6 separate regions of the Homo sapiens genome follow, and all the other regions are linked to region 5. The links are contacts of gene promoters, found by promoter capture Hi-C in blood cells and fetal thymus (Javierre and others, 2016). All regions are on one chromosome and are shown on one strand. Each heading gives the region's core, a stretch centred on a gene start or on the middle of the fragment in contact. The rest is flanking DNA. Distances are from core to core; before and after follow the strand shown.

Region 1 (4,361 bases), core at 1,287-3,786, 710 kb before region 5:
CATTAGGAAAACAAACTAGAGGTAAATATCACATTAATCTGTATTATCAATTTCTCATAGACACTGTGCTAATGTGAATTTTAAATGACCTGCATCAAGTCTTCTGATCTCAGATAACTCAGTACAGATAGCAATTAGTCAGCTGATTTGATTACAATGGAGTAACCGACAATATATTTATTTATAAAGCACATATTCATAATAACGAGAAGAATTCAGAAAACCACTTAAGCAAGACCCTTCTGAAATAAAAAATGTTGCTTTTTAAATAGTTTGTCCTAAGGTGTTTAAAACATGTCAACCTTATGTAAGGAAAAATTTCCTGGTCCAAATAAAGTTGAAGTTTAAGAAAAATTGATTTGAGTGTTCTGTTTTTGTTTTCATGTTCTTCCATTAGTATTTTCTAATTTTTGTCCTTAGTTAGTCCATTTGGAACTTCGATGTTTTCTAACTTCTCCTGAATGCTTAGTATCTATCGTGCTACTGCTATGAAATTAGATGCATGCACTTAGAGCAGCAGAATGAAGAGTTATCCTGCAATGTGGAGGTTTTGTTAAAGTTCAGCTTTTAGAAAGTTAGGCGTCTGGGAGTGGTGGCTCATACCTGTAATCCCGGCACTCTGGGAGGTGGAGGCGTGAGGATCCCTGGAACCTAGGAGTTCGAGACCAGCCTGGGCAACATGGCAAGACCTGTCTCTACCAAAATTACAAAATTTAGCCGGATGTGGTGGTGTGCACCTGTGGTCCCAGTTACTTGGGGGGCTGAGGCAGGGGAATCACTTGAGCCCAGGAGACAGAGGTTATAGTGAGCCCAGATCACCCCCCTCCACCCCAGCCTGGGCAACAGAGTGAGGCCCTGTCTCAAAAAAAAAAAAAAAAAAAAAAAAAAAGCAAAAGCAGGTGGAAACAGTTTCTTGTTCCTGATTTCATCATTTTAACCTGCCTTGTATGTCTTTTAGCTTTTCACAGCACATTCTCATATACAATATAAACCTTCAAAAGAAGTTCATAACTTCATGAACTACATAAAGAATGTCACAGGAAATTCATTTTCTAAACATTCTTTGACTCCTTGACAGGATTTTCTAGGAACATGATCTACCAATCAAACTTGCATTGGTGAATCCCTAAGTGTGCCTCTCGCCATCAGAACAGTGACTTTACTGTGTAGTCATGGGCATTTGTCTTTTTGGCATCACGTTGGGCCCATGTTGCCCCTTCAGAAACCCTGAAGAAGCCATTTCAAGCTCTCAACCATCTTTCCTGATAAGAAAACCCACTTGTTAGAATAGGGTCTTACACCAATCGCTTATAGCTAAGGCTGAATTTAAGTCAAATGTTTCCCTCTTCTGGGAGTATACAAAGCTCTTAAACTGAGATTTGAAGCTCTTGACTTCTGTGCAAGCAATTTTACCTACTACTGAGCAGATGAGTGAAGGGTTGAGGCTAAGAAGACTTCTCAGGGCCTCTGAAAATGTATCAGGTAGGTAGGTGGGTAGGTAGGTAGGTAGAATAGATAGATAAAATGAGTAAGACTGTCTCAGGATGAGGGCAACTCTAAGGGTCTTCAAGAACAAGTAGGTTGATGATGTCAGGGGCTTCAAAGGAATAAAATGCCTTTGGGGTACCTGTCATAGAGTGCCAGAACTATTATAACAGGAGTTTTCATTTCTCCCCAAGCCTGTGTAATAGCAGTCATGCTGCTACCTTAGTTACACTTTCAGGTGAACAAGGCTGAGTGTTACCCAAAAAAGGTGTCCTGATCCAGATCCTAAAAGAGGGTTCTTGGATCTCGCACAGGAAGGAATGTAAGGCGAGTCACCCAGTGCCATGAGAAGTAACATTTTATTGAAAGCTACTCAGTTACAGAGTAGAGCATTCTCAGAAAGCAAGAGGAGGAATGCCTCTTCTTTGTTTTTATTCGATAGGGGTCTTATCTCTGTAAAAGGTAAGCTAAGCAATGTCTACGTGCGAGTGGGCTAACAGAATGAAAAAAATTAGTACTTTGTTAATTTAAAGAAAGGTATCCTTGGCATTTTCATGCGTAAATACGTGAAAGCATGACTATAATTACCTTAAAGGTGTTTAGCATTATGCAATATTGGAACATCTGGACATTCTACTGTCATAGGAATTTGTCCTTCCAGGTATTATTAAGCTATTTCCTCAGCTGTAGACATCTTAAGATGGAGCTGATTTTTTTGTTTTTTAATCTAGTTTAAGTTCCAGAATACAAGCGCACAACGTGTAGTTGTGCCATGGTGTAGTGTGCCATGGTGGTTTGCTGCACCTATTAACCCATCATCTAGGTTTTAAGCCCGGTATGTATTAGATATTTGTCCTAATGCTCCCCCTCCCCTCACTCCCCCACCCCCCGACTGGCCCTGGTGTGTGTTGTTCCCCTCCCTGTGTCTATGTGTTCTCATTGTAAGATGGAGTTGATTTTAAAATGCTGTCACCCTGGCTCTCCTACACTCCTGTTTCCCTAACTCTAGGATGATGTTGCCTCTATTTTATAAGATTGGACATCTGAAACTGCCATTTTTGAAGGTTAAAAACAGTAAGATATTAGCAATTTGGTATAATTCAACCAGTTGGAACTAAGCAAATGGAGACAAGTGCTTGGCTTAAATGTCTAATAAAAGCAATCACAAAAGCCAGGTGCAGAGGTACATGCCTGTAATCACAGCACTTTAAGAGGCAGAGGTGGGAGGATCACTTGAGCCTAGGAGTTTGAGACCAGCCTGGGCAGCATAGTTAGACCCCTTCTCTACAAAAACTAAAAATTAGCCAGTAGTGTCATGCGCCTGTAGTCTCAGCTACTCAGGAGGCTGAGGTGGGAGGATCACTTGAGCCTCGAAGCTGTAGTGAGCCCTGATCGCACCATTGCATTCCAGCCTGGGCAATACAGCAAGACCCTGTCTCCAAAAGACAAACAAACAACAACAACAACAACAACAACAACAACACACGATCACAAAAGACTATAAGAACCACAACCTTCCACAATGGCCATTGCAGTCTTACACAAAAAAATACTGGGATTATTGCCCTTGTTATTCATCTTTGCAGCAAAGGATACTTATTTTAAAACAATTATGCCATCGTCATTTTTGTCCTTTAAAAATCTTTGTTTTATTTTACCTCCCTGAATACACACATAATTTACTATGGCATGCATATTCCTATTGCAAAATTCAATTTCCAAATAAATATTTTTAAAGAGCCTCTTTCTGTTTGTTATTTAGGTTAACATAAAAAATCTAGAGATGATTTAAAGTAAACCAAAGGATGTGTGTTAAGTTACATGCAAATACTACACCGTTTTATATAAGGGACTGGAGCATGGTCTGATTTTGGTAGCTGAGGGGGTTCTGAAACCAATCCCCCACAGATACTGAGGGATGACTGTACTTTAAAATATCATGTTGTACACAGTAAAAATATACAATTTTATTTGTCAATTAAAAAATAAGCTCCTTGAGGGCAAGAACTGGATTTTATAATTTATTTTTTATGTCTCAGTAAATCCAGTAGACCTCAGCACAGATGTTCAATAAACCTTCCTTAATTATAAACTAAAAGCAAGAAAAAAAGAATGACCACTTTCAGCAAGGCTGGAAAATATGGCTTCCTACTCATGTTAAACTGAGTAATTGCTGTTAAATCAGAACTAGAAATATGATTGGATATACACTGTTAAGTCTTTTTTGAAAACGACTTTTCTGACTTTTGGGGTGCCCAGTGGTCCTTGACTTACCTCTCTTCTTACCCTGCATACCTTCTCTGGATGAGCTCATTCTTTTGCCACCAATTCAACCGATTTCAGTTCTCTCTACTGAGTCCTCACTGGGTTGGTTTTTGTCTTTTCGGTTTTTTTTTTATAGGGAGTCTTACTTTCTCGCCCAGCTTGTACTGCAGGGGCGTGATCACGGCTCACTGCAACCTCCGCCTTCCAGGTTCAAGCGATTCTCCCGCCTCAGCCTCCTGAATAGCTGGGACTACAGGAACAGGCCACCACGCCCGACTAATTTTGTATTTTTAGTGGAAACAGGGTTTCACCATGTTGGCCACGCTGGTCTTGAACTCCTGACCTCAGGTGATCCGCCCGCCTCAGCCTCTCAAAGTGCTGGGATTACAGGCGTGAGCCACTGCGCCCAGCCCTCAATGGCTTTTTCAACTGTCTAGTGGGTATTTCCAGCTGGATGGTTCATAGCAACAAAAGACAAGTCAACCCATTTTCCCCAAACTTTGTCTTCCTTCTCCGCTCTTTATGGAACTAGAAACCAAAGCATTGCTCATTCATTCATTCAACAAGTGTTCTCTGAATACCTACTCTATACTAACCAGGATGTACAAAAG
Region 2 (4,146 bases), core at 522-3,021, 700 kb before region 5:
ATAGGTAAATGCTTCTAGGGACTTAAGTTGCAGCATCTTTAAAAAAAAAAAAAAAAGCACTCTGAATTCTTAGTTGTGGAAACTGATGGCTTCAAAGAGAGGAGAAACTGAGACAACTGCTTTTTTGTTTTAAGGATTGACATGTACGTGGAGGGGACACTGGATCTGCTGGAACTGCTTATCATGCATCCTTTCTTAAAACCAGATGATCAGCAAAAGGAAGTGGTTAACATGGCCCAGAAGGCTATAATTAGATACTTTCCTGTGTTTGAAAAGGTAGGTGGCAGAGATGCCTACATACACAGAGCAACCAAACCACAAACCACAAAGAAGCTGCCACAAACACCCTTTTCTGTCCAAGGATTTTAAAACTGAGCCCAGTTGAACTAACCTAAGCGCTAATGGACTCCTAAGAGCGAATAGTAGCCACAGCACAAAGCTGGTGTCTTAGAGCCCCTTGGACTCTGCTAGGACCACATGATTCAGAAGTCTAGAAAAAGTATGGGCTCCCTGCCTTTGTTCCTTATTGTTCCTTGCATTCACCAAGTTCCCACCTTGTGTGGATACAGCAGAAACTTCAGAAGATACAGAAAACAAAAACTACCTCATTCATTCATTCAACAAAAGTTGTCGAACAGCTGTCTCAGCTGACATCCTCCCTGATAATTCGATATGAGTAGAAGAACCATTTCCATTTTATTTATCTTCCCTTTGCTCTTTTTGTTTTTGGTTTTGTTGTTTTTCTCTTCTTGTTATATCTGCTTTTCTGAGCTTCAAATTCTTTATTCCTGAACTGGGAGGAACTTTTTTAGTGTTTCAATGCAAACACTAAAGAAGAGGGTGTGAAAATATGGGAAGACCTATTTGGCAAGCTTCCTCTGACCATCTTTATGGAACTAGATTTAGGAAAAAGGAGAGGTATTTTCTGGGGTTTCTGTAGCTAGGTTTTATGGTATCTTTCCCACAGGCACTTTGTGAATGTAAAATAGGATAATGAAGAAATGTGGTCTGGAACGGGCACAGAGGACCTGGTGCTTTGGCAAAGGTTCACTGCTCATTCTTAGGTCCCAAGGGCCCAGACTGTGTCAGGGTTTCTTGCAACACGCCTATGAGGTGAGAACCGTTGTCCCTTTTACACATAATGAAATGAAGTCATGAAGAGATTCAGTGACCTGTCCAAGGTAACATGGCCAGAAAATGGAGAGCAGGGTTGGAACTCTGGCCTCTGACTACAAATTCAGGATGCATTGTACTATGCCACTCTGGCTCCAGTAGCTATATTTGACCTGGAATTGTGTTCGGAGTCCCTGTGACACACACACTTGTGCACATGCAGACACCCATGGGCATCCAAGAGTTGACTGTGAAGGGGATCTCCCCTTTGCTACTACTGCTTCTTGCCTCTCCCTAATCACAATCTATTCTTATAAGCCCCACACCTATACGTTACCCTCAGAATGGGAGTCAAGATGAACTCAAGCTTTTCATTTTCTCTGTTTTGGGACATGTAAGAGGAAGTCTAATTTTATAATTGGGTTGAGTTTATGACTACACCTCTTGATGTTCTAGCAGCAGAACTGGGAAATAAGAGTGGGCCCCTTGAAGATGATCTATCACTTAGATTTCTTAAATCACCCTGCCCCTCCCCAAGCCTCCTGCATGCATTTCTGTAGATACATTTTTGGAGTAGATATATCCTTTCAAAACACCAGATGCTAAATCCAGAAATAAGGAATTTTCCCTTCCCCACTTCAATGTCTCATTCAGATCCACAGCAGATATTTAAGGATGCTTTCATTTCCACACCTTTTTTGTACTTTCTCTCTCTCTCTCTCGCTCTCTCTCTCTCTCTCTCCCCCTCTCTCTCACTCTCTCTGTCAGATATAGGGTGCGTTCTCTTAATTGATGTTATTTATGAAAGCATGAAATGACAAGGTCATAGTTTCACCTCTTCTCAGATACTGCACTGATTCAATAGCCTCATCACTCTCTCCATGTGGAATATTGTAACTGATGCACACCATTTCCCTACAGATTTTAAGGGGTCACGGACAAAGCTTTCTTGTTGGTAATCAGCTGAGCCTTGCAGATGTGATTTTACTCCAAACCATTTTAGCTCTAGAAGAGAAAATTCCTAATATCCTGTCTGCATTTCCTTTCCTCCAGGTAAATAAAACTATGTATTAGAAGATTGGCCTAGAACTCTTGGGCCTTCCTTCAGTGTCTATTGTTTGGTTGGCTTTGGGGAGTGTGTGTGTGTGTGTATGTGTAATATTTTTAAGATTCTAGTTTGGCAAATGAAATGAAAGTAAGGACCCAAAGTTATTTTTCTGGTCCTTAAATCCTTCAAGTTGAAAGATCATTGAAGTGTAAAATTTTTTTTTTTTAAGGTGGGATCTTACTATGTTGCCCAGAATGGTCTTGAACTCCTGGGCTCAAGAGATCCTCCCACCTCAGTCTCCTGAGTAGCAGGGACTATAGGCATGTGCCAGCACACCCAGCTCAGAAATTTTCATCTTAATTTTGTTCCATAACTGCACTCCTGGAAAAAACTCCATGCACAGGGAGTTTGCCTCAGGGGACTTTCCATAGAAATAACCATAGAGATGAGGTGGTCTCACACTCACATGTATCTACTGATGGAATAGTGGGCGAGATAAACATCAAAACAGTCTCATTCATCAGGCTATGACTCCCTTTCTCAGAAATAGTATGGTCTCAAGTTAGGAAATTCTAAGCCTGAGCTCTGAGAGCAAATGAGAGATGTTAGCACCCTAAACATCACCCCAAAGGATTCCTACCATTCTCCTTCTGAGAATTCCAAGGAAAGACTTGTGTGGTTCAAATTATCCCTCAGGGTTATTCTGGCAGGATTGATCATAGAACTTTAAAGGAGAGAAGGGCCTTTAAAAAAAAACTCATTTAATGACTTCAATATTCACTTGAGGAAGTAGAGACCCAGAATAAAGAAATCAGCAGCCAAGCTGGCTTAGGCAGTGGATGCTTGAGTTTTATCTAGAACCTTAGCCTTTTATCTCCAAGTCTAATGTGCAGACTGTAACTCCTGGGCCAAACCTGGCCTGCCACCTGTTTTTATACAGCTTGTGAGTTAAGAATAATTTTTACATTTTTAAATGGTTGAAAAAAATCTGTGGAATAATATTTCATGACACATAAAAATTATATGAAATTCAAATTCTAGTATTCATAAATTTCATTGGTACAAAGCCATGCCCACTCATTTACACAATGTCAAGGTTACTTTTGTTTTTCTACAGCAGAGTTGAGTAGATCTGATAGAGACCATATGGCCTGCAGAACTTAAAATATTTGCTGACTGGTCCTTTATGGAAAAAGCTTGCCAATCCCTGAAACAGCCTGGATACAGACCAAATTGCTATATGTTTGACCAAGTTATCAAAAGCCAAGAGAGATACACTAACTCTCCAAAGAGTAACACACATACTTAAAACAATTTTTTGCCAAGTCTATTAAATATTTTGATATACTAATGAGAGCAATTACCACCAGTTCAATAAGTACACCCAGAAAATGAGAATAAAAATCTTCAACAAGGCAATAAACCACCATATCATTTATGTTATAGTTTATATTTTTTTTTCAATTTTTTTTTCATTTACTTTTGCAGACACAGAGATTGACTTTCCTTAATTTGATTTTATTCATTCAGAACTTAGGATACTTTTCACCTGAAGTATTCTTTTGCACTGTTAAAAAAGTTACTTGTTTAGCAGAGAAGGGAAATTAGAGGAAGGGATCTGCAACTTGTTGAGTGCCAGCTTCATTCCAGTCAGTCTGCTAGGCACTTACATGCATTTGCTCATCTGTCCCGTCAACCCCACCCCAATAACCCTAGGAGATGGGCTTCACTATCTCCATTTTACAGATGAAAATTACCAGCTTGGAAACATTACATTCTGCATAGTTGCAAGACTGTGGATGACTGAGTTGGGAGCCACAGGGGAGTCAGGGATCTAAGTCTGTACTCTTTCCACTAGACTGTGTGGTTTCTGAGAAACACATTTAGAAGTACTAGAAGTACCTTTGGCCCCAAATAGGTGGGATGCTGAACCCAGAAGTAGGTAGAATGCTAAGCTTATTAAAGGTGAAATCTAGGCCGGGCGC
Region 3 (4,563 bases), core at 1,369-3,868, 910 kb before region 5:
ATGTGCTGACCAGGCAAGCACAGAAGTCGCCTGGAGAGCCACGCCTCTGCTATCTGTTTCCATTGCCTCAGGGAGAAAAACAAAAAGATAATAAATTCAGCTTCTCTTTTTCTTTTGTTGATGGCCTTCTCCTTTCACCTTTGTTTTGTGATTTCGCTTCAGAGGGCAGTCTCTCTTTTTCAACTCAGTTCCAGCTGCTGAAAGTGAAGGCCTAGACATTTGATCTCCTCTTGATTTGACCAGAACACCCTGTTCGAGAGACAGGACAAGCAGTAACACAGGGGTTTTGGCAAAGAATCGGACTGTATTGATCTAAGTAAATGAATGAATACATTAGTGTTTTTGCTGCCAGCAATCTGGTAAGAACTCTTAAACACATCCAGCAAGGGTTAAGTAGGAAACAATGGTGTTCCCTTGCCAACATCCACTGCAGTGTGTGGAGAATTATTTTCAAATTTCTATTTTGGATGCAGGCAGGAAAGGGGACAAGGTTTGAAAAATTATGCTCACTACTTGGGTGATGGGATCATCCGTATCCCAATCCTCAGCATCACACAATATACCCATGTAACAAATCTACATGTATCCCCTGTATCTAAAATAAGAGTTAAAAAAAAATTTAAATTCCGTTTTGGCAAATGCATTTCCTTTCCTATCTCACTAGACTGGAGCCTCTGACCCTCTCAGGACACCCCTCAGGCAGGGGAGTTTCCTCATCACAACCTGTTTGTTTCATCCTGAATTACAGCCCTAAATCCTTTGCTGAGTTGCCATTTTCATTAAATCAAAGTATACTTGTTAGAGACTTAAAGTTGATTAAATAGCAAAATAAACCACTTATCTTCCTATACATCTTCAACTCCCAGAGCTAGTTGTGACAAGGGTTTTGGTGGCCACCAAGAAACCACACTATAAGAATTTTAGAAGAGAGTTACTTTCATTTCATATTTAAATTATTATTATTATTATTTTTTTTTTTTTTTTTTTTTTTTTTTTTTTTTTTGAGACGGAGTTTCACTCTTGTTGCCCAGGCTGGAGTGCAGTGGCGCGATCTCGGCTCATTGCAACCTCCACCTCCCAGGTTCAACTGATTCTCCTACCTCAGCCTCCCAAGTAGCAGGGGTTATAGGCATGCGCCACCATGCCTGGCTAATTTTTTTTGTATTTTTAGTAGAGACAGGGTTTCACCATGTTAGTCAGGCTGGTCTCAAACTCCTAACATCAGGTGATCCACCCACCTCGACCTCCCAGAATCCTGGGATTACAGGCGTGAGCCACCGCGCCCAGCCAAATTGTTTATTTTTAAAAATGTTTGAATGTGTAATTCATTCCTATGTCTAAAAAAACTAAGAGAAAATTACAGAGTGAAGTTTCTTTCTACACTTGTCCCCCATCTACCCAGCATTCCCTTCCTAAAACAAGTTTCTTTTTTATTCTTCCAAGGATTTTAATGCATATGAATATCAATATTTATTTACCGAAGTATATACACCTAGAGGCCAGGTGCAGTGGCTCACGCCTGTAATCCCAGCACTTTGGGAGGCTGAGGGCAGGAGTTTGAGACCAGCCTGGCCAACATGGCAAAACCCCGTCTCTACTAAAAATACAAAAAAAAATTAGCTGGGCATGGTGGTGGCAGGCGCCTGTAATCCCAGCTACTCAGGAGGCTGAGGTGGGAGAATTGCTTGAACCCAGGAGGCAGAGGTTGCAGTGAGCTGAGATGGTGCCATTGCACTCCAGCCTGGCCGACGAGCGAAACTCCTTCTCAAAAAAAAAAAAGAAAAAGAAAGCTTTACCAGATTCTTTTCTCTCTCTTTCTCCCATTTTTTTAACTTTTATTTTAGGTTTATGGTACATGTGCAGGTTTGTTAAATAGGTAAATTGTGTGTCACAGGGGTTTGGTGTACAGAAAATTTTGTCCCCAGGCAATGAACATAGTACCCAATAGGTATTTTTTCTGATCCCCTCTCTGCTCCCACCTTCCACCCTCAAGTATGCCCTAGCGCACCTGTTGTTCACCTCCCAGTGTCCATGTATTCTTGTGCGTAGCTCCCACTTATAACTGAGAACATGCAGTATTTAATATTCTGTTCCTGCATTAGTTTGCTTAGGATAATGGCCCTGGCTCTATCCATGTTGCTGTGAAAGACATGATCTTGTTCTTTTTTATGGCTGCATAGTATTCCATGGTATATATGTAATCACATTTTCTATTTTTTTTTTTTTTTTTTTTGAGACAGAGTCTCGCTCTATTGCCCAGGCTGGAGTATAGTGGCACCATCTCGGCTCACTGCAACTTCTGCCTTCTGGGTTCAGATGATTCTTGTGCCTCAGCCTCCCTAGTAGCTGCAACTACAGGCATGTTCCACCATGCCTGGCTAATTTTTTTTTTTTGAGACATATTTCACTCTTGTCGCCCAGGCCTGGGCAACAGAGCGAGACTCTGTCTCCAAAAAAAAAAAAAAAAGATAGAAAATGTGGTTACATATATACCATGGAATACTATGCAGCCAATAAAAAAGAACAAGATTGGCTGGGCACGGTGACTCACGCCTGTAATCCCAGCACTTTGGGAGGCTGAGGCAGGTGGATCACGAGGTCAGGAGATAGAGACCATCCTGGCTAACACAGTGAAACCCCGTCTCTACTAAAAATACAAAAAAAAAAATTAGCCGGGCGTGGTGATGGGCGCCTGCAGTCCCAGCTACTCTGGAGGCTAAGGCAGGAGAATGGCGTGAACCTGGGAGGCAGAGCTTGCAGTGAGCCGAGATCGTGCCACTGCACTCCAGCCTGGGCAATGGAGCCAGACTCCATCTCAAAAAAAAAAAAAGAACAAGATCGTTATTTTAAGCAAACTAATACAGGAACAGAAAATTAAATACTGCATGTTCTCAGTTATAAGTCAGAGCTACACATCAAGAACACATGGACACTAGGTGGTGAACAACAGGCGCTGGGGTGTACTTGAGGGTGGAAGGTGGGTGTCCATCTACTAGAAATATATAAAATATAATAATATACAATGTTATCAGAAGGTGATTTCAAGGGATTGGGAAGGATCCTGTGTGGCTTTGGCCAATATTGGCCATTTTGACCATTATTGTAGTTTACGTTAAAAATAACTAACATTTTCACAGAGCCTTAGAGTCTTAGAGTTATTGCATACTTATGTTATTCCACCTACATTAGTGGTGGAATGAGGCAGGAATGTATTATCATTTTTATTTTACAGATGAAATGCAAGGAGATTAAGTGACTTGTCCAAGAGCTAAGTAGTAAATGGGGTTGCCAGGAGTTGAATTCCAGTTGCCTGACTTGATGTCTAGCATAAAGGCAGCCAAGCAACTATATGATTTAGCTATGTAATGTAACCCTTTAGAGCCCACACCTTGCAAGCTCTGTGCCATAGCTTTTAGATTAGTTGCTTAAAACTGAAGCCAAGCTTTTCAGTGGCAATGATTTAAGTTGCTAAATATAATCATGACTCTCAAGAAAGTTATATTTTAACTTTGTATGATCTAGTTTTGTGTTTTTTTGTTGTTTTTTTTTTTGAGACGGAGTCTCCCTCTGTCGCCCAGGCTGGAGTGCAGTGGCATGATCTCGGCTCACCGCAACTTCCGCCTCCTGGGTTCAAGCAATTCTCCTGCCTCAGCCTCTTGAGTAGCTGGGATTACCGGCATGTGCCACCACGCCCGGCTAATTTTTTTTGTATTTTTAGTAGAGACGAGGTTTCACCATATTGGTCAGGCTGGTCTCAAACTCCTGACCTTGTGATCCACCCAACTCGGCCCCCCAAAGTGCTGGGATTACAGGCATGAGCCACCACGCCTGGCCCTAGTTGTCTAAAACTTTGAACAGGTCTTTAAAAAATATATTCTGTTGATCTACTGTGGATCAATATAAAGACATTTGCTAAGGATCAGATCCCATGTAATATCTTACACATTGGGTATAGATTAGGCTGGAACCTAGTTCTTAGATTCCTACTCAGTTATTTCACTAAATGAATACTTACTTAATTATACTTAGTGAATATTTTACTTAATTATGCTTACTAGGCAGAATAGTAGGAGATGTAGCTCTAACCTCTAGTGACATATTTTAATAAACAGATCACAGCCTGGGTAACAAAAGCAAGACCCTGTCTCTACAAAAAATATAAAAAATTAGCCGGGTGTGGTGGTGCATGCCTGTGGTCCTACTTGGGACCCTACGGTCCCAAGAGATCTGGAAGGGTCTCTTGAGCCCAGGAGTTTTAGGCTGCAGTGAGCTACTGCACTCCAGCCTGGGTCACAGGTGAGATTCTGTCTCTAAAACAAAAACAAAAACAAAACCAGATCAGACATACCAGTATTATGGTTCTTGGTGCTTTTGGTGGAGCTTCACCTTGGTGGGAGGAGTTCTAGAGACATCTCTTCTGCAACTGATTCCTGAAAAGGGATGACAGTAGCCCTCCCGCTCCCTTATCCACAGGGGATAAGTTCAGAGCCTGAAACTGCCCATAGCACTGAACCTGATCGCCATCAAGCGGAACACAGTTCTGTTTATGACCTCCACCCACAC
Region 4 (4,207 bases), core at 918-3,417, 770 kb before region 5:
TAGTGCCTTGCTTTTCATTTGGTGCTTTTCCCACCATGTCAAGAACCCTTAGTAGCCACTTAATAAATGTATAACGATGGCCCAGAGCTTATGAGAACCACACGTTTTTTTAGGAGAGATCAGTGTGAGTTATTTTTTACCTTTCTATAGGTGAAGCATGACCTGTGATAAAGTATTGATAACATGTGACTGCTCTTTTGACTACCATAAAAGATAATGCCTGAGAACCGGAAAGGAAAGTACTATTGTATAATGCCCAAATACGTATTTGGCAATATCATGAAAGTTACTATCTGCATGAACTTGTGGTTCCCAAAAGATAGTTATTAATGGTTTTGCCCTCTTGGACATTGCCTTTGCTTTGAAAGAGAATTTACTAGAGAATGATTTAACTAAGACAAAGGGGAGTAAGAAAAATGTAAGATATACATGCCTTCATGTGATCTTAGCTGTTGAAAAGCAAGTTTTTTCCTAAATTAGTGTAAAAGTTTTTAGAAGGAGTCATAATTTTGGTACCCTAGTCCCAGTACAGTTGTCCAGTTTGCAAAGAAGTGGGGCGTGACGGGATGACAGTGAGGGTGGACGTGGTAGTATAGGAAAATCATCTATGGTCAGGATTGCCTTTTAAAGCTCCATAAGTTGTTCATTCATTAGTTAATTCATTGAACATGTCTTTATTGTGAGTCCGTACTTGTGCCAACTATGCCAGTTCTCTGGGAACTGAGTACTGGGAATACAGTTGTGAATATTGCAACGTTTCTGACCTCACAGAGCTTATATTCTAAGGTTAAACACAGCTTGTATGTAGCCCTGTAACCTAGGGGTAAGTGAGGGCTCTATGGAGAGTACTAAAGTGCTTCTGCTTATTTGGGGGATTTCCTCATCTTCAGGGCTTGACAAACTATGGCTTGTGTGCCAGTCCTTCCTGCTGCCTGTTTTTGTAAATAAATTTGTACTGGAACACAGCCATGCCCATGTATTTACATATTGTCTTTGACTGCTTTCATGCTACAATGGCAGAGTGGAGTTGTGACGGAGATGGAGAGCCTGCAAAGCCTATCCTGTTTACTGACCCTTCACAGAAAAAACGTGCTTATCCCTGCCCTATTTTATTTTTACATTAAGCCTTTACTTCCTTTAATTCATTTTGATTTTTTGTATACATGCTAGCAAAGCATCTTACACTGAGATCAGCTCCTTAGTCAAATGTGTTGTAATAGCATATAAATACTGATAACATGTGGCTGTCCTTGTAACTACCGTAAAAGATAATGCGTTAGAACCAGAAAGGTAAAGTATTATTGTGTAACGTCCAGCTACTTATTTGCCAGTATCATGAAAGTTACTATCTACATGAACTTGTGATATGCTCTTAGTCACTCCCCTATCTTCACTATCCCTTATCTTGCCCACCCCTGAAACACAGGCAAGCAGGACTATTGCCACCCTCGGCAGTTTTCATTAAGCTGGGGACTCTCGTTCTAGCTCATCTACAGTTTCACACATGGCAGGGTAAAGGTTTGTTTTTCTGGCTGTTTTTTTATTTTTTATTTTTTTTAACATTTCGCCTTTACTTCAGTTCTTTACAGTCCACCAAAGCCAACTATGTGTCCTAGTTTAAAAATCATCTGCAAGTGATTGAAGAACTTTTTTAAGGTTCAAGGCGTGAGCACCTTTTATATTGTAAGAGAAGCGACAGGGAGTTATGGAAGCTTCTCATGGGATTAAGGACCTAGTGCAGGACGAGTTCTTTTTTCAGAAGCTGGGATTGAAAGAGGAGAGGGATGGTAAAGGTATGAAGAAGTTTCTGGGGCACAGAAGAAGGCACATCATGTAACGGATTATCTTCTCTTGTTAACATCCAGTTGATGCAATAGCTGAATGCATCTTTAATTCACTCCTCTGTCAAGGTAAAGACAAAGCAAGATCCATGTAAAGAAGGTCCTTTTGGCTTTGTAACTGCTATTCCTTATGCAGAAAAAAAGCAGTAGTCCAAGAGGCAAAATGCTTAAAAGGTTTGCTTGCTAAAATGTACAGAGGCAGAAGAATTAGGTCCAGGAGAAAAACATAAACCCGGATATACTATTTCTAGTACCTTTTTAAAAGAAATTAACAGTATTCACTGACTTTTGTAAAGTTAGGACACATTCAAACCTAGAATACGAAGTCTAATTATAAACCTGTAAAGGTAAAATGGAACTCAGAATTACCATGAGAAGGGTCATCTAATGATTTTGCATATAATCCACTTTTCCTAGGAGGATAAATGAAAGTAACAGAATCTTTTCAATGTAAGATAATTAATGCAAAGGGAGACAAGCTCCTTCTAAGGAACTGAATGGTGTCAGTGGGCCTGGTAAACCACAACTCCCAGAGAACCCCAAGTTTGCTGTAACTTTTTGTCTCCTGTCTTAGAAAATGTGTAATGATGGCATTAATTCATTGATTAAGGTTTCAAAATAAAGAATGAACTACAATTTTCCCTGCCCCTCGCCTCCATTTTTTAGGCTGTGAATGAGCAAGGCACCTGATGTGAGCTGCTGGCCATGAGCAAATGTTCTTTGCCTCCACCGAGGATTGACGCTGAGGGGAGGGAATTGGGGCAAATCACAGGAAGCTTTTCCCCAATGTCACCTAGCCAGGAACATCATAACATTGACTTCAAAGGTTTGCTGGAACTCTTTGAAAGAGAGATAAAGCTGTCTTTCTTTGGTAGTTGAGTACAGCCTTACCCAAAGGCCAAAGGCCTGATCTGACCGCATGGAGGGGGACTTTCTGTGATCCTCTGAGACTCAGTCATCTTGGCATTGTTGTGGGAGGGCCCAGGCTGCCTGCCTGCCCCAGCTATTCTGTGGTATTCACTGTTCTTCCACTTCAGAACTTCAGAACTTTTAGTTGGGCCCAACAGTTTATCTTTGTTTTGTGTATGACAAAATAGAAGCACTGAGAATTTTGAGGTACTTAGCCAAGGTGGTACAGAAAATAATAGCAAAGACTAAAACTCACATTTGGGCCCTTCAAACAATCTTTGAGGACTTGCTACTGCAAGTGGAGTGAGAAGACAAAGATGAAGCAGTCTTGGAGAGTGTCGAGGCTGAAGCAGAGGGTACACCTGCAGGTCATTGCCACGGGGAAGGGGCTGGCAGTGAGGTGAGGACAAGGCACTATGGCATCAAGGGAGAGGACCATTCTCGGGTCTATATGTGTAGGTTGGGGCAGGAGGCTTGGAAGAGGTGACATGTGAGCTCGAAAGAGAAGGAATCGATGTTTAATGTTTACTGGGGCCTGGCTGAGGCACTGGGGCACTTGTGCATCTCTTGAAAGAAAGGTGTGTAGCATACAGGGTCCTTCGGTGGCACTGTCTTCTCCGCTAACCTTTGTTCATGTGATGCAAAAAGCAGAAACATTTATCCTTTTTTTTTTCTTAGACAAATGCTAGCTCAATTCCTGATACAGAGTCACAGAATCACACAGCTTTAGAGGAAGAAACCACCTTAGAGCAAGTCCCATGCCCTAATTCCACCAAAAGTAAACTCAAGGACCAAGAGATGCCCCGAGGCACAGCAGATCAGTGCTGAGTGGAAACTGGAACCAGTCCCTCACTTTGCCTCCACTGTGGGCATGTTGGTGCTGCCAATGGCTCCAGAGGATTCGCTGATATTTGATTGCAGAATGAAGACAATTAGAACATAGCCATATCATTCATTTTCATATTTGGGCTTTGAGATACAAAGTACTACTTCTGTTCCTGTCATTTTCAGATCCTCCAAAGATTTCATGATCTTTTGAAAGCTTTCCCTTAAGTTTGGTACAGTCAGCCTGGGTTCCTGTCTCATTTCTGCCACATTAGTCGTATAATCTAGACATGTAACTTGTGTCTCAGTTTCCTTCTCTGTAAAATAGGGATAATTGTAATAGTACCTGCCTGGTAGAATTATGAGGGTTAAATGTACTAATATATGCATAAGCACTTATAATAGTACTATGCACATACTAAGTACTAAAATTATCATGTTTTGGGCATATTTGATATATGAGGGTGCTAAGTGTAGATTCGTTGTAGTGAATGATTTATCCAAGTTAATTCTTGGAGTCAAAGCAGAATTTAGAAATACTGCGAGTTAGAAATACATGCTAATTCTCAAGGTAATGGACAGGCTGCTACATTCCATTCACTTCTCAAGCAGTGTTAACTATCTGTACCAGA
Region 5 (4,292 bases), core at 542-3,041:
GTTAGAGTAAGACAGATTATCAGAGATATTCTAATTCAGTTTCTTCATCTTATACTGTATATAAGGAAACAAGCCCAGAAAAAAGTGTGAGAATCAAAGATGTGGTTTTCAGATTTCCACTCTTTTGGACTTTCTACTACAAATGACTCGACTTCTTTGCTAGTTTGAACTAAGCTTCCCGGTTCTTTTAGTGTTAATTTCAAATTGTTTCCAGAGCAGAGGATATCTCAGTACTCTGTCCAATAAGTTCATAAAATAAGAGTTATGAGTAAAAAGTCTTAATAAATCAGTAATTACCTCTTGCTATATAACGGCAAACAGTATCTTTATTCTAGAATTTTCTTTTTTTTTTGCCCGTTAATAAACATAAAAGCAAGCAGTCAAATGACAGCCTTTTTGCTTTGGCTAAGGATCGATTTATCTGCCCACTAGGATGGCACAAAACATACAGTAACTATAAACTGAATAATAACTAGAAATACATATACCCACACAAATAGATGGCCTATATATTTTGTTTAGGCAGATTATTCTTAGAATATTTATCAGTACATAGTGAGTCCTGAAGACTTTAAAACATAAGCTAATAGTTGGCTGAAATTTCAGATAAAGAATTATCAAATGTCTGATGTTGGGCAATCCAGTATTTCAGCTTCTTGTTCAGTAAAATTAAAAACACATGCTGGGGCAATGGGCTTGCTCTTTATTGTGCAGAGTGGTTACATGGGTGTAAGCACAGGTAAAAATTCACTGAGCTGTACACTTAAGATTTGTGCATTTTACTGTATATACATTATATCTCAAAATAAAACTAGAAATATAAGAAAAAGCCAACCACGACGGACTGAAAACAAACATACAAATTTGGACGTGCGATGATCTTTTAGTCATTATGGTTTCAGATTTGCTGTTAGTTACTGATTGATATTTAATCAAAGTGACGTGAAACACTTTTTCCCCTCTTGAGCTGATCGTTCAGTAAGCTAAGTTACTTAAAAGGATCTTGTGATCTTTTTATAAGACCAGAAAGCCTTTAATTTACCTGTTATTAAGTAAGATGGAGTAGTAACGGTTTCCAAAATTTGTATAACACACGATGAAGTCTCTAGGGGGCAGGGTAAACACAGATTTTTTTTTTCACTTCATCCTTCTCTGCGGCGATGTCTTTATGGAGTTCGTCAGGCAACGGTATCAGATAGCAAATGGGTTTTTAACTAATCTTTCCCTAAGGTACTGTAGTTCTATATTCTATCCTATAGATTCTCAAAATCCACTTTTACACTAGGATGCCACTGGAGGGCAGTTCTGATTTGGATATATCTTAAAAATGATTTGCTTTTATGTTTTCATCTCCCTGCGTTATAAAGCACCATCCTCTGAATTTGGTCGTTGCATCGGGTCAAAAGTTCTGCAGCTTGAAAAACCCTGCAAAAACATCCGGAAAGGAGGGAGAACACTACAACTCCCAGAACGCAATGCTTTCCCTCTCGCCAGCCTGTCCCCTCCAGCTGCTCAATGACCAGCCTCTGTGAGCCTCCTCTCAGCCCTATTGGTCAGTTTGCTCGTCAGTGAGTGAGGCGGAGGGAGGGGAGGAACAGAGAATCCCGGATGGTACGTTTCCCGCCACCGCGGGGCGCGCAGCGGAAAACCCGAAGAAGAAGAAGCTTTTGATTGGACAGTCGCTAGTCCGACCTCAGAGAACTCAGCCAATCATAATGCTTATATGCTCCCAAGGTCCCCGCCTCTTCCTCGAGGTAACCTTTGGTGGCGGGAAGAGTTCGGAAGTTTTCGCGCCGGGGTGGAGTCATCCTGGGAACCTCCACGCGACTTTGGTGGAGGTAGTTCTTTGGCAGCGGGCATGGCGGGTACCGTGGTGCTGGACGATGTGGAGCTGCGGGAGGCTCAGAGAGATTACCTGGACTTCCTGGACGACGAGGTGAGGGAGGCGCCGGCGCGCGGGCTCTAGCGCTCGGAGCCCCTGCGGACGCGGCCCGGCCGGGAAGCCAGAGGCCCGCCAGACCTCCAGACCGTGTGCCGCAGCGGAGCCTGCCGGGCCCGAGCCTCCAGCCCCAATCTTGTAACTTCTCAACGCCGGACTCGCTAGTTTGTGTTCGATAAGTGAACTCTTAGGAAGCCAGCTTTCTCTTAAGTACAAGCGATGGTCCGGGCGCGCAAAAGGCGACAGGTTCCCATTAAGTGCAAGCAGATTGGCAAAGCCCACCTCGGCCTTTTGCATTTCACTGCTCTCTCTTGATTTGAGGAGACTGTGGGGGAGGGGCTGCCCTAGGGCTATAGTGACCAGCCGCGTTGCAGAGTGCTCAGATTTTAGGGACTGACGTTTTACCTGGAGGAAAAGACTCCATAATTCGGCTGCATTCTTTTTCAATACCAACTAAGATGCAGATAAAAAGTGTTTTGTGTGCAGGCCAAGGGGATTTTATGTGCAACCCAAGACTTAAAGCCATAGAATGTTGAAAAAACCATCTTGAAGGGTTGATGATGTGACCAAATAGCTGAGATTCTCTATTCCTTTAGGTCGGGGTATGAGAACCCTTTCCGTATTATAGAGATGATTGGAAAAAATATTACTTTTTACATAATTCTTAAATGAAAAGCCATTTTAATGTGACTATTAAGAGTCTGTTTTATTTACATTTTTATTGTATATATTTGAAGTGCACATGTTTTGATATACATGGTGAAATGATTACTACAGTGAAACAACATATCCATCTATTCACGTTGTTACCTTTAACATTCACATTGCTAGGTTTAACTTAACATTTTAACAAAGTTTGCACTTACTGTCCATTTAGACTTCTCATGAGCTCATTTTAATTCTCCACTAAAGACAGAAATTACAGCATGCAGAAAAGTTGTCCATGATGATGGGAATAACAGCATGGACCTTGAGGAAGTCATTATAATTCTTATAGTCCCCTCTTAGGGTGTTATTTCGAATCTAAAAACAGTGAATGAAAGGGAGAAATTGATGAGCACATACTTACTGGGGATTCAGCTCTGCTGCAGAGATTGACTTAGCTATCTGGCTATGAGAACTACTTCTGTTTAGAAACATTGTTTTTAAATTTGTGGCTATGGTGATATGTGGTGGCTGTTTTGCAGGAAGACCAGGGAATTTATCAGAGCAAAGTTCGGGAGCTGATCAGTGACAACCAATACCGGCTGATTGTCAATGTGAATGACCTGCGCAGGAAAAACGAGAAGAGGGCTAACCGGTGAGAGGCAAGGGGATATACTGGCTGTCAGTGAGAATGGCTCCCTTCCCTCTTGGCCAGATTGGAACAGCCTCTCAGGAGAGGACTTGTATGAAACAGGATTGATCTACAAGCCCTCGTAGCTCACCTGCACCTATTTTTTTTTTTTTTTTTTTCAAAAAGTGGGTGGTTGGCATTTTCCTCCCAAATGCCCCTCCTTCCAATGTTTAGCTGAATATCATTTTTATATCTTTGATAAGTTGAGGTGAAGTTGGTCCTTAGTTCTGGTATTTTACTGAGTCTTATAGGATGGTGTTTTACTGAGACTTATAGGAGAAAGCAGAAGCTGGATTTTCTCATTGTTTTTAATGATCTAAGAATGTCTGCTGTTTTGAGGATCCATTTTTTTGAGTTCTGCCCAGTCTAATTTTTCTTTCTCTTGCTTATGTACAGGCTTCTGAACAATGCCTTTGAGGAGCTGGTTGCCTTCCAGCGGGCCTTAAAGGATTTTGTGGCCTCCATTGATGCTACCTATGCCAAGCAGTATGAGGAGTTCTACGTAGGACTGGAAGGCAGCTTTGGCTCCAAGCACGTCTCCCCGCGGACTCTTACCTCCTGCTTCCTCAGCTGTGTGGTCTGTGTGGAGGGCATTGTCACTAAATGTAAGTGGGTTAAAGGGGGCCGCTTAGGAAATGAATAGACAGGGAGATGGGGAAAGCAGGAGAGGCAAAGTAGATCTGGGTAGCTTGTGGCTTCAAAGAGGTGGAGCATTGGAATTACGTGGTAAAACTTGGAGGGCTCAGTGTGTACAATGATTGGGGGACCTTGAGTAATCACATGTATTAGTAGAATGATGAATTCTGCTGAGAGCTGGAGGAGTCTTGGTTCCTGGCAATCTCTAATTCCAACCTCTAACTCCACCTATTTATTAGTTGGGATTGGTGGTACTTAAAATTTTACATGGATATGGTGGTGGTCTATATATAAATAAAAAAGTGAATAAAAGGTAATATTGAAATATCGTAACCTAGTCAAAAAAACACAGTATTTGGAGTCATTATAGGCTTGCATATG
Region 6 (4,156 bases), core at 592-3,091, 800 kb before region 5:
TGTGACAGTGTCAGTCATGATTCTGGTTATCTTAAAATGCTACATGTACTAGAAATAACTAAATTCCCTCATCAACTGAGAACTTTCATCAGATTTTACATGGCTATTCTAAGTTTTTGTCATCACAATTATTATTTTGAATTCTCTAAAAACATTTGCAATCAGCTACAGTCCAAAACTGCTGTTTATGGAAAAGACTCTAGCAGTACTCTTGAACAAAGATTTTTGCTAACTTTAAGATCAATGGACTAAATAAAAATTTCCAGAACTCTAATAAATTCATGGGTTCATTGAACTGCTAATAAAGATCAAGCATAATAAAAAATTACATAAAATTGATGTAAATGATGAAGAGAATGTCTTTATGACGTTAGAAGACTTTTGTGAACCAAGGTGGAACCATTTGCTTTTTCTCCCTACTTGATTTCTCCAAAATTCAGAAACTATTCATATTATTTTTATTTATATAAGTTCAATAAAAATCTAATCCCTTTATATGAGGATACAATTAGAAACATTAGTTATATTACCAAGGCTTTGACTGAAAATGTCATATTTAAGAATGTGCATAAAACATCCGGCTTTAAGAGTTCTCAGCCTTATCGTGAGTAAAACCTGTCACTTCCTAGCAGGCCCAAGAACCTTAAGACCCTAAGTGAAGCCTAAAGTCTACCTCTCTTTGACTTCCTAGCCTCAAGAGATTTTTAAATCTGAAATTCCTATATGATCAATGTAGGAAAAAAACGTTTCTTAAAAAAAAAACTGCAATACACCTGTTGTTATCCACACGTACACCGGACTGTTTGATGAATTCTCCTAGTTTCCTCCAGGATTGGACTACAACACGCCAACTAAAAACAAAAGCTTCTGTTCGTAAAGCCCTTTAAGCTGAAACTATTCAAATTTTAAGAAACAAGTCTCATGCCTGATATATGAGCCACACAACAATATCATGACCAGAGACATTCAAACATAAATCAGGAGGAGAATCTGATGTTTTTGTGAAAGCTGTAGACAGCTTTTCCCATGACATCAGAACCATATCATAAGACTTTTACCCCCACTTAATGCTACTTTTTTCACTTGACAGGATAATGGTGTAATTGAAATTTCATAATCAATAGCTTCTGCTGGTAACTTAACAGAACCTAACCCAAGAAATCCTTTAGTATTCATTGGTTAAAAAAGAAAATATCTGTGCTATTGCTAGTACTACATGCTGTACCTAGATAAATCCCTCTGATAAAGTTGAGACCCATGTACACAAAATAAGAAAACAGGTAGCATGATTACATGGTCTCACCTAATTCCCTGTGGTCACTGGTCTACTCAATTAGTTGTTCTTAAGCCTAGGTTCATGGCTCAAAACCATTATGCAAATTGGAATTGTCATATTACTATTAACTTTGTTACTTGTTAAATTTCTGCAGAAGTACCACACCTAACAATAACGCTGGCCCAGCATTTTGAGTAACAAAGACTATGGAATAGACAAAAATCAAACTTAATAATGGAATCCAGGTAGACACAGCCTGAGAGTCATTCCCTTCAGACGTCCCTTCTTGCCCAAATGTGGCTTAAAAGCATTTTGACACGGACTCCTAGTTGCTAATCATTCTCCCCAACATGGGATGAGACTAGAAACCAGGACTGGTCTATGCTGGTACTATGGGATGTCAAAACCTAACTACAGGATGACTGATCAGAGAAAGATACTGATCAAAAGGGGAAAATGTGAAAGTTGTTAAAATAAAAATGGAGCCACTAATGTTAAGAAAACCCTGACAAAGAGAGCTGAGGAAGGCCATGAAGAGAAGGTTCTCAGGCTTCTATGACTGGTTAACAAAAAAGACTATAAAAAACACAGCTCTGCACAAAGGCCATCACAGCCTTATACAAAAAATATTTTTGCTGCAAGGACATCTGCCCAAGAAACTGTCTGTCCAATCTCAGACTGGCGTCCCCCTTGTTACTGATCTTTGTAGTCAAGGATTAAGTATTTCAAAACAATTATGTAATCCTCATTTTTTCCTTTAAAAACTTTTGTTTCCCTGAATAGTTTACTATGGCATGTGTATTCCCATTGCAATGTATTATTCTCAAATAAATGTCTTTTAGAGAGTCTATCTGCTTATTATTTAGGTTGACATAACAGTGCTAGAGACTCTAGTGGCAATCCACTAGGTGTTTAATAGGTACTTGTTAAATATACTAGCACACAGAATTGTGAAAAAGAGTCTTCAAGAAATTCAAATATTTTATGAAAACTACAAGATTCCAAATGGAATTAATTTAAAAATAATGCATCTGAATTTTAAGAACAAGTTGTTTTTAAAAATTCTATATAAGGACTAAGTATATAGTTTTAGGTTTTACATTTAAGTCTTTAATCCATCTTGATTTGATTTTTGTGTGTCGTGTAAGGAAAGGATCCAGTTTCCATCTTCTGCACATGGCTAGCCGCTTATCTCAGCACCATTTATTGAATAGAGTCCTTTCCCACACATAGCAAAATTTTCAAAATATAGAATAACTTTTAATGAGCCATAAGAAAATGCTAGTGCTGTTTTAATCTAAACCATTACCACAATGAGTTTACAGTTAGTGTAAAAATGACTTGAATATATTTTTCTAATATAACTCTTTTTCCCAAATCAGTTAAGCTAGCATGTAAACTCTATGGTAGTAGTATGGGTTACTACATCTGTCCTACATATTATTCTATACCCTAGAAACCTAGCATATTCTAGCCTTTAAATTCTAAGTTATTTGAGAAAGTTAAGTACAGCTTAGCAAAACTTGTTTATTCTAAGCTTTAACTCAGAACACCAATCAAGTAATTTTATCAGGATTGGCAAAGGACCATCTTTCTTTTCACCATTGCCTCAGTTGTTTAAAAAACAAAAACAAAAACTTAGTACCTGGCACAGATGTAGAATCCTCTGCACACCAGCGACAACTGCTCCAATGATCTGAGGTCCAAGTCACTAGACACCACCCATCGGAAGATGTACATCAGGACCTCCATTGGCAGCACTGCAAAAGAAAATCATCCTTCAGTGACTCTCCTCTATGTCATTCTATTGTCACAACTACATTCCCAGTACATTTATACCTTCCTAGAAATTTATAATCACACCCTCTGTATTGCTCAGAGCTAAAGCATGAATGTATTTAGCTACTCAATAATAATAATGGTTCTTAACATCAAGACATAAATATCTTTGTTTTTTCAGTATAGATCTGAAGCTACTTTTTATAAAGCACTCTTTTCCCTCATAAGATTATTTTGCCAGACATATTAAAATAAATGTTTTAGGAAAATAATCTATGTGTGTGTGATCCATATTGCATCTATTAACACTAAAGTTATTTTCATCTCCTTGAAAACTTTTAATTGTCCTCCTCTGAAAAAGCCCCGAACCAAACAATATTTAACATATTAAAAATACATGAATTTCTTTTTTTTTTGTGACAGGTTCTTGCTCTGTTGCCCAGGCTGGAGTGCAGTGATACAATCTCAGCTCACTGCAGCCTCTGCCTCCTGGGTTCAAGTAATTCTCGTGCCTCAGCCTCCCAAGTAGGTGGGACTACAGTCATGCGCCACGACGCCCAGCTAATTTTTGTATTTTTAGTAGAGGTGGGGTTTCACCATGTTGGCCAGGCTTATCTTGAACTCCTGGCCTCAAGTGATCCTCCCAACTCAGCCTCCCAAAATGCTGAGATTGCAGGCGTGAGCCACCATGCCCGAACAAAAATCCATTAATTCCTAAACATTCAGTCTGTCTCAGGACAATTGTCCAACATGGCTGAAATGCTTCATGATACCAGTATTCCTCCAGTTTTCTTAGGGCTACCTCAACAACTCAGACTTACCCTGTTAGATCTTTACTGAAAAAGGTATGGCATCCTTAAACAACAGCACTACAAACTGTTCTGCTTCAGATTGTAAAGCAGCTTACTACTGGGCTGGGCGCAGTGCCTCAGAGGCCTGTAATCCCAGCACTTTGGGAGGCCAAGGTGGGCAGATCATGAAGTCAGGAGTTCGAGACCAGCCTGGCCAACATGGTGAAACTCTGTCTTTACTGAAGATACAAAAATTTAGCTGGGTGTGGTGGCACACGCCTGTAATCCCAGCCACTTGGGAGGCTGAGGC

Evidence for each region. Contacts are between HindIII fragments. The CHiCAGO score rates a contact against its expected background, and 5 or more counts as called.
Region 1: a fragment that was not itself captured here is called in contact with the fragment with the promoter of MCM3 in region 5 in 4 of 17 cell types (naive CD8 T cells, naive CD4 T cells, total CD8 T cells and 1 more); the score reaches 6.1 in naive CD8 T cells.
Region 2: a contact is called between a fragment that was not itself captured here and the fragment with the promoter of MCM3 in region 5, in 1 of 17 cell types (total CD8 T cells). The highest score is 5.4, in total CD8 T cells.
Region 3: a fragment that was not itself captured here is called in contact with the fragment with the promoter of MCM3 in region 5 in 1 of 17 cell types (naive CD4 T cells); the score reaches 5.3 in naive CD4 T cells.
Region 4: a fragment that was not itself captured here is called in contact with the fragment with the promoter of MCM3 in region 5 in 8 of 17 cell types (total CD8 T cells, activated CD4 T cells, non-activated CD4 T cells and 5 more); the score reaches 8.2 in total CD8 T cells.
Region 6: a fragment that was not itself captured here is called in contact with the fragment with the promoter of MCM3 in region 5 in 1 of 17 cell types (erythroblasts); the score reaches 6.2 in erythroblasts.

Annotation. Positions count from the first base shown.
Region 1 is chr6:52,997,296-53,001,656 of GRCh38, reverse strand. CILK1 (ciliogenesis associated kinase 1) reads left to right here. Exons shown (of 14, transcript NM_014920.5): 14 at 1-354. Among named protein-coding and RNA genes, the nearest start is that of RN7SK, 3.9 kb to the right of the region's middle. The HindIII fragment of the contact is 6,462 bases long and covers 1-4,361 here.
Region 2 is chr6:52,980,594-52,984,739 of GRCh38, reverse strand. GSTA4 (glutathione S-transferase alpha 4) reads left to right here. Exons shown (of 7, transcript NM_001512.4): 5 at 135-276; 6 at 2,035-2,166. Among named protein-coding and RNA genes, the nearest start is that of GSTA4, 13 kb to the left of the region's middle. The HindIII fragment of the contact is 577 bases long and covers 1,483-2,059 here.
Region 3 is chr6:53,188,531-53,193,093 of GRCh38, reverse strand. No RefSeq gene overlaps it. Among named protein-coding and RNA genes, the nearest start is that of GCM1, 42 kb to the right of the region's middle. The HindIII fragment of the contact is 1,652 bases long and covers 1,793-3,444 here.
Region 4 is chr6:53,053,213-53,057,419 of GRCh38, reverse strand. The region is part of intron 1 of CILK1 (ciliogenesis associated kinase 1); the gene reads left to right. Among named protein-coding and RNA genes, the nearest start is that of CILK1, 6.5 kb to the left of the region's middle. The HindIII fragment of the contact is 905 bases long and covers 1,715-2,619 here.
Region 5 is chr6:52,282,241-52,286,532 of GRCh38, reverse strand. It overlaps MCM3 (minichromosome maintenance complex component 3), which reads left to right and starts at 1,791. Exons shown (of 17, transcript NM_002388.6): 1 at 1,791-1,936; 2 at 3,127-3,239; 3 at 3,672-3,880. The coding sequence starts at 1,859. RefSeq lists enhancers at 1,314-1,513, 1,834-1,913. The HindIII fragment of the contact is 4,216 bases long and covers 1,667-4,292 here.
Region 6 is chr6:53,081,384-53,085,539 of GRCh38, reverse strand. It overlaps FBXO9 (F-box protein 9), which reads right to left. Exons shown (of 13, transcript NM_033480.3): 7 at 2,922-3,036. Among named protein-coding and RNA genes, the nearest start is that of FBXO9, 18 kb to the right of the region's middle. The HindIII fragment of the contact is 1,949 bases long and covers 867-2,815 here.